Regions from separate parts of the Homo sapiens genome. Here region 2 is linked to region 1. Evidence: promoter capture Hi-C in human tissues and cell types (Jung and others, 2019). All regions are on one chromosome and are shown on one strand. The core of a region is centred on a gene start or on the middle of the fragment in contact, and the rest is flanking DNA. Distances in the headings are between cores, read along the strand shown.

The links. The method cuts DNA at HindIII sites, captures the fragments that hold promoters and counts their contacts. A contact is called where the count stands out against the background at its distance.
Region 2: a contact is called between a fragment that was not itself captured here and the fragment with the promoter of TCL1B in region 1, in 1 of the 25 tissues and cell types used here (lymphoblastoid cells).

Annotation. Positions count from the first base shown.
Region 1 is chr14:95,685,028-95,688,377 of GRCh38, forward strand. TCL1B (TCL1 family AKT coactivator B) reads left to right here and starts at 1,399. Exons shown (of 4, transcript NM_004918.4): 1 at 1,399-1,602. The coding sequence starts at 1,441. The HindIII fragment of the contact is 12,005 bases long and covers 1-1,627 here.
Region 2 is chr14:95,633,632-95,637,138 of GRCh38, forward strand. No RefSeq gene overlaps it. Among named protein-coding and RNA genes, the nearest start is that of TCL6, 17 kb to the right of the region's middle. The HindIII fragment of the contact is 3,788 bases long and covers 1-3,271 here.

The DNA of each region.
Region 1 (3,350 bases), core at 149-2,648:
CATAGGGTAGGTACCTACAGCAAACAGGCTTCAGGGGGGCCCAGGAGACCAGGGGTCCCCATGATCCCTGCCTCCTGGTATTCATAACCTTGAGTAAGGATAGGACCTACCCCTGACCAATGGAATATGGCAAAGGTGACACACGTACGTGATTCCATGTATGGATCACATTATATGAGACTGTGATGTCCCTTGTCTTCCTGGCCCACTCCATTCCCACCCCAAGTGTTGGTTCCTTGGAAAAACACTGGGGATGGAGGTGGAATTGCTGTGAAAACAAGACTCAGTCCTCCACAGAAGCTGCCCAGGGAGTTCTTCAAAAGTGGTTATCCTACCTGCCATTTACACTGGATCAGGACTGTCCAGAAATCATTTTCACATCTCCCCAGCAGAATGGCATCATCTCAATACTAATCTTCACTTGAACTAGAAGAATCATGCTTGTGGTTTTCAAAAGGAAAAGGTTCCTATTCATGGTGCATTTAGAAGCAGCCCAGGGTGCTTATAGAACGGACCTGCTTCTTGCTATGTTCTTGAGCTTCTGAGGCCTCTTGACAAAGTCGAGCAAGTAAGACGACCAGGCCAAGTGGGCACTCTGGGCCCCATGGCCAAGGATGGGCTGGCCAGGTGGCCACGTGGCCTCCGGTGGCCTTGTTTCTGTGGGCTTTATCTGATCCTGAGCTCAGATGCTGATAGTGCACTGGCTTATTTTCTAAGGAGAGGGAGCTTGATTTGTGCAGGATGCGCCTTCACCAGATACCTCCAGGGGCAAGAGTCCACTGAGGTTACAGCGCCCCCCGCCCCCCATGCCTCTAAGCTCTAAGCTCAGAGAAGGGTCCCTGACACAGAGTCCTGTTAAAGGAATGGCCACAGGGATAGGAGAGACCAGGGTCGTGCATGCCAGCTCAGGATCTGGGGCAGGATGGTTGGCAGGGGGTCGTGGGGAGCAAAGGAGGGGAATCACCTGACAGAAAATTGGGCAGGGGTGCTCAGGGAGGAGGCTGCGGAGGGACTGGGACCAGTGGAAGGGAGGTGGAATAGGTCTTAGGAGCCAAATTCCTTGCAGAGGCCTGGGGTGAAGCCTGGGCAGCTCTATCCCCGGGAGCCGCCCTTTTGCCTCCAGCAGCTGCCGGTCCAGCCACAGCCCCTCCAGGAGACCCAGGCCGGGTTCCTAACTCCGCTGCTCTTTGGCCTCGTCCCTGCCTAGCCCCTGCTGCAGGTTGCTTTTTTCCCCCCTCCTCCTCCTCCCTCCTCCCTCCTCCCTCCTCCCCCTTCCTCCTCCTCCCCCTCCTCCCCCGACTGGCCCCGCCCCCACTGCCGGCCCCGCCCCCACTGCCGGCCCGGGCCCCACCCACGCCGGAGCTGCTCCATTTAAGGAGATTGCGCAGCTGGAAAGCTACACGTGTGAGCCTAGAGGCGGGTCCCGGTTGCAGACTTGCCATGGCCTCCGAAGCTTCTGTGCGTCTAGGGGTGCCCCCTGGCCGTCTGTGGATCCAGAGGCCTGGCATCTACGAAGATGAGGAGGGGAGAACCTGGGTGACTGTGGTCGTGCGGTTCAATCCCTCGCGTAGGGAATGGGCCAGGGCCTCCCAGGGCAGCAGAGTGAGTCCTGGGCACGAGGGGAGGCTGTGGGGAGGGCTGCGCACTGACCCCTGCCCGTGTGGGACCGCGGTGGGGGTCAGAGGGGGCCGTTCTCACCCGCACTGGAAAACTCACTTCTGTGCAGGTCTAGGAGCGCAGCAATGTCCATGCCCAGCCCTGGCCCCAGGAACACCCCCCGTAAAGGGACCACAGGCACAAGCTTATCCACATGAGATAATGTGGTCCTGCGTGGTGAAGCCGAGGCTAAGGTAGCTCAGGGCTTAGTGCCATTCCCAGTGCCTGCTGGGAAGGCCCACAAATGGGGCAGCTATTGAGCTGGGCTTTGTGGGATGAGTAGGAGTTCTCCAGGTCTAGAAAGGAGGCAGGAGTAGTATAAGCAAAAGCATTGCAGCCTGGAGGCACCAGGTGGGCCAACAGGATGAACATGACATTGGTGTCAGATTACTGATCTGCAAAATGAGAATAATATACCTCTGTGGCAAGCTAGTCACAGACATGCTCACATACATGGCTCACCGCCTGAATGGCCTGGGGAAGCATTTGACTGATAACAGATTCTGGAAATTAATTCAGGAGGCTTGGGTGGAGTCCTAGATTCTTTACTTTTCAAAAGCTCCCCAGGTGATAATGATAATGACTCAGGAAACGGCTGTAGATGAGGGCTTTAGATCACAGCCAGTCTTTGAGGGATGAAGTAAATACAGTAGCGTTTCTGGTGTGGGTGGCGGTGGGGAATTGATTCCAGGACCGACTGTGGATGCTCAAGTCCCTGATAGAAAATGACCTGGGTAGTAATTACATATAACCTCAGCGCATCCTCTACTATATTTGAAATCAGATTACTAATAACACCTAATGCTACACCTACACATCACTTCAAGCTCTGCTTTTGGGAACTTTGTGGAATTTCTTTTTTTCCCAAAATATTTTTAATCTGAGGTTAGTCGAATTCATGGGTGCAGTATCCATGGAAATGGGGGGCTGGCTGTACCTTAGTGTAATGTGGTAAAAGCATATCCGGATATTTAAAATGCCATTTAGGGCTGGGCGCGGTGGCTCACGCCTGTAATCCCAGCACTTTGGGAGGCCGAGATGGGCTTATCACGAGATCAGGAGATCGAGACCATCCTAGCCAACATGGGGAAACCCCGTCTCTACTAAAAATACAAAAAATTAGCCGGGCGTGGTGGTGGACGCCTGTAGTCCCAGCTACTCGGGAGGCTGAGGCAGGAGAATGGCGTGAACCCGGGAGGCGAAGCTTGTAGTGAGCCGAGATCGCACCACTGCACTCCAGCCTGGGTGACAGAGTGAGACTCCGTCCCAAAAAAAAAAAAAAAAAATGCCGTTTAGGTCTTCGTAAACAATTCACTGCCTGTTTGTTTGTTTTTTGAGAAAGTCTTGCTCTGTTGCGGCTGGAGTGCACTGGTGTGATGTTGGCTCACTGCAACCTCCACCTCCCAGGCTCAAGTGATTCTCATGCCTCAGCCTCCCGAGTAGCTTGGATTACAGGCGATTTTTTTTTACAGTTAATTTTTTTTGTTATTTTCAGGAGAGACAAAGTTTAATCATGTGGGCCAGGCTGGTTTTGAACTCCTGACCTCAAGTGATCTGCCCACCTTGGCCTCCCAAAGTGCTGGGATTACAGGTGAGCCACCTCGCCCAGCCAGTTCACTGACACTTTAAACAATATAACACATTTCCTAAAAAAAGTTCAAATAGGTTATTTCAAAAAATGTTGGTAGAGAACA
Region 2 (3,507 bases), core at 128-2,627, 51 kb before region 1:
TCATTGTTCAGCAAGCCACTGGTGAACTTGAAAGAAATAATGATGCTAAGCACAACCACCTGGCAGAAGCCAGGATAGGTCCAACAATTGCTCAGTGAATCCAAGCTTTGTTGTATGACCACATGGACAAGATAAGCCATGCCCAGACCCATAGCTAGCTGCCCCATGCATGCCAGGGGTGCCCCCAGCCAGCACTTCCTGAAGTTGTAAGATGCAGCAGCTCTGTGCCTAAATCGAATCCTATGAAAACAATTTCTAAAATGACTAGTGGACATGGGGAAAGCAAGACACAGCTCATAATGTGTGGAAAACTATTTTAATGTCTTACATTAGTTCAATGGAGTTCATACAAAAAATAGTTGCTTACCAAAAGTCACTATTATCATAATTTTGATTCCAAAGCTCCTACATATAAACATGGGATAAGCCATCTCTGAGGTCACAAGGGGAAGACCAGCATGGCCACTGGGTCAGACTGGCAGGGTCAGAGTGTCCTGAATTCCCAGATGGAACCTGGAGTTTAATTTGGAGCAGATATAAGAGTGGGCATTTTGGAGTACAGCAGAGAGAGGCTGTTGTGGCCTCTGTCCTAGTGGGTCTTGGTAACACAGTCATGAAATCAAAGAGCCCCCACAAGTCTGATCATTATTGAGTGCTTTCTGTGTGTCAGAGGCTGTGCTGGGTGGTGGTCAGGGAGGGGGTGTTACAGGCTGATATGGTTGGAGGAGGGGCCTGCTGGGAGGTGATTGAATCATGGGGGTGGACTTGCCTCTTGCTGTTCTCATGATAGAGTTCTTATGAGATCTGGTTGTTTGAAAGTGTGTAGCACTTTCCCCTTCACTTGCTCACTCTCCTGCCAGCCATGTGAAGATGTGCCTGCTCCCCTTCACCTTCTGCCATGATTGTAAGTTTCCTAAGGCTGCCCAAGCCATGATTCCTGTACAGCCTGCAGAACTATAAGTCAATTAAACCTTTTTTCTTTACAAATTACCCAGTCTTAGGTATGTCTTTATAGCAATGTATGAATGGACTAATACACAGGCATTGCTACATTGGAAGCTTAGCATAGCTAAGAGGTAGCAGAGGTAGTTTCTCCAATGAAGGAACAATGGAACTTTAGGAGAATTAAGTCAATTATCTCAAAGATAACCAGCTGAGAAAGAGTGACCAGGATTAAAACACAAGCTTGCTGGACTCCAGAGGTCCCACTCTTAACTCCCTGCTGGGCTGCTTCTGGGAGAAGATATATATAAGCCATCAATACACCATTGTGTGAGCCTAACCCCTTCTCCGTCTTTCCAGGCTCCTACCGGGCCAAGCCTCTGCCATCCTGGCTGAATTATTGCAAGAGCTCCCTCATTGACTCTGCATCCACCTTGTCCCCAGCCATCTATTCTTCACATAGTAGACAGTCATCTTTTAAAATTCAAGTCAGATCACATTCCAGCACTGCTCAGAAGCTTCCAATCACTTCCAGCCATGCTCAAAGGAAAAGCCAAAGAGCTTTCTGTGGTACACAAGGCCTTGTACCACTTGGCCTCATCCCCACCTCTCCTCCTTTCCTATTGCCTTCCTCTGGCTCTTGCTGGCCTCCTGCTGTTCCTTGACCAAGTAAAGTAGCTCCTGCCTCAGGGCTTTTGTACATGCATTTCTCTTTGCCTGGAATGCTGCCTCCCCAGATATCTGCCTGGCTACCTCCTTCTGCTCCTTTAGGCCTTTGCTCAAATGAAACCATCCTAGTGAGGTTTCCCTGACCTCTGATCTAAAATTGCAGCCACTCCCCTCCCATTTTTTTGCTTGTCTCCACAGCCCCTGTTGCCATCTGACACATGGTGTGTCTACCTCTGTATGTGGGGCTTATCCATCTACCAGAATGTCAGCTCCACAAGGCCAGGAGTTCTTGTCTGTTTCCTTCACTGCTGTATCTCCAGTACCTAGAACAGGAGTTAATTCATAGACAGGGCTCAACAAAAACTATGTTAATGAATGAATGCAGGTATAGAAAGACAGAGAAAGCATGTCATTGATAAGAGTCTGTTTCTTTCATCATATTGGCCAATGGGCACAAAAGTTGTTTTGAAACAGACAACATCTAAAGACCCCTCAGTTGCTAGACAAGAGTCAGTCTAAGTGCAGGGAGGGCCCTTCATGCCCTTTTGTGGAGTCTCTGTTCTTTTCTGGAATTAGCCACTCCTGTCCAAGGCAGAGGCTTCTCCCTAAATCCCTGGGTGTGTATTTCATCTCTGTCTTCATCCAAGGCCAGGGATGTGCCTTGACTTCTGGGTGTTTTGACCAGTAGGTAAGGTTTGTCCTGCAGCTACCAATGTTCAGGGGAGGTGCTGGGGGGAGGCTGGAGACCCTGACAGTATTGGAAGGTTCCAGCCTGGGAGCATGTGAGAGTGGGGCTGGGTGGGACAGGGCAGCTTCACTAAGCAGAGTGGGAAGAATAGGCATGCTGGATGTCAGGCGCAGAGGTCCTGGGAGGAAATGGCCCAGGACACAGGAGTGTGGCTCCCTACATCTTAATTTATCACTAAACCGGGTTCTTGGTGTATGTGTGTATGTGTGGTGTGTGTGAAGCGTGTGTGGTGGGGTGATGTTATTCCTGACCTCATCATTTGGGCTTTTTCTCAGGAACTTGTGAACTTGTGTAGCAGGGAAGAGCTCTGCAATTGTTTAAATCCTGACTCCATATGAATCTAGGAGATGCTCCACCTGCCTCTGACCCTCAGTTTCTTCATCTACAAAATGGTGGTAATATTCCTACTTCATGGAATTAACATATGCAGTTCAAATAAAATAACCAATAAAAATTGGACCTTGGCCGAGTCCTAGTCTCAGTAAGCAGTTCATATTAATCCTGATGATCACGCTCACAATTTTGCCACTGGGTGGGTAGATTTTTTGGCCATTACTGTTAGTGATTCTGAGTCTCCCAACAGAGCCTGGCAAAATCTTCCTCCCCCTGTCAGCCTCAGCCTGGGTCTTTCCAGAACTGTCAGGGAAGCAGCTCCCCTTCCTCAGCTCCCTGGGCCCAGGAGGGGCGTCATTGTCATAGAAATGAGAGAAGCACGTAGGTAATTGCCTGCTGAAGGTAGAGGGAAGAGGAGCAGGAACCTTTCACCTCACCATCTGCTCAGGCTCAGCCCCATCCCTGCAGAATCCTGAGCAGGGGCTCCACTCTCCTCTCTTCCTTGCACCATCAAAACACGCTCCGGGTGGTGCCACATGAAATCCCCACATGCTCATGCCTCCATTTCTTTTTCTAATTCAAAGACATTCTGGGAGTGTCTACTACACGCCCAGCCCTGGACCAGATGGAAGCATCATGTTTGTTCATCAGTATCACTGACTGAGCACTATTCTGTGTTCAGCACCTCTTGAAGATGCGCCTAACTTAATGCTGAATTTAAAGCCTACAGCAACCTATGGAGACAGGCATACTATTATCTCCATTTTATAGATATACCCAAGGAAATCAACAATAATTCCATAGCATCTCTTAAT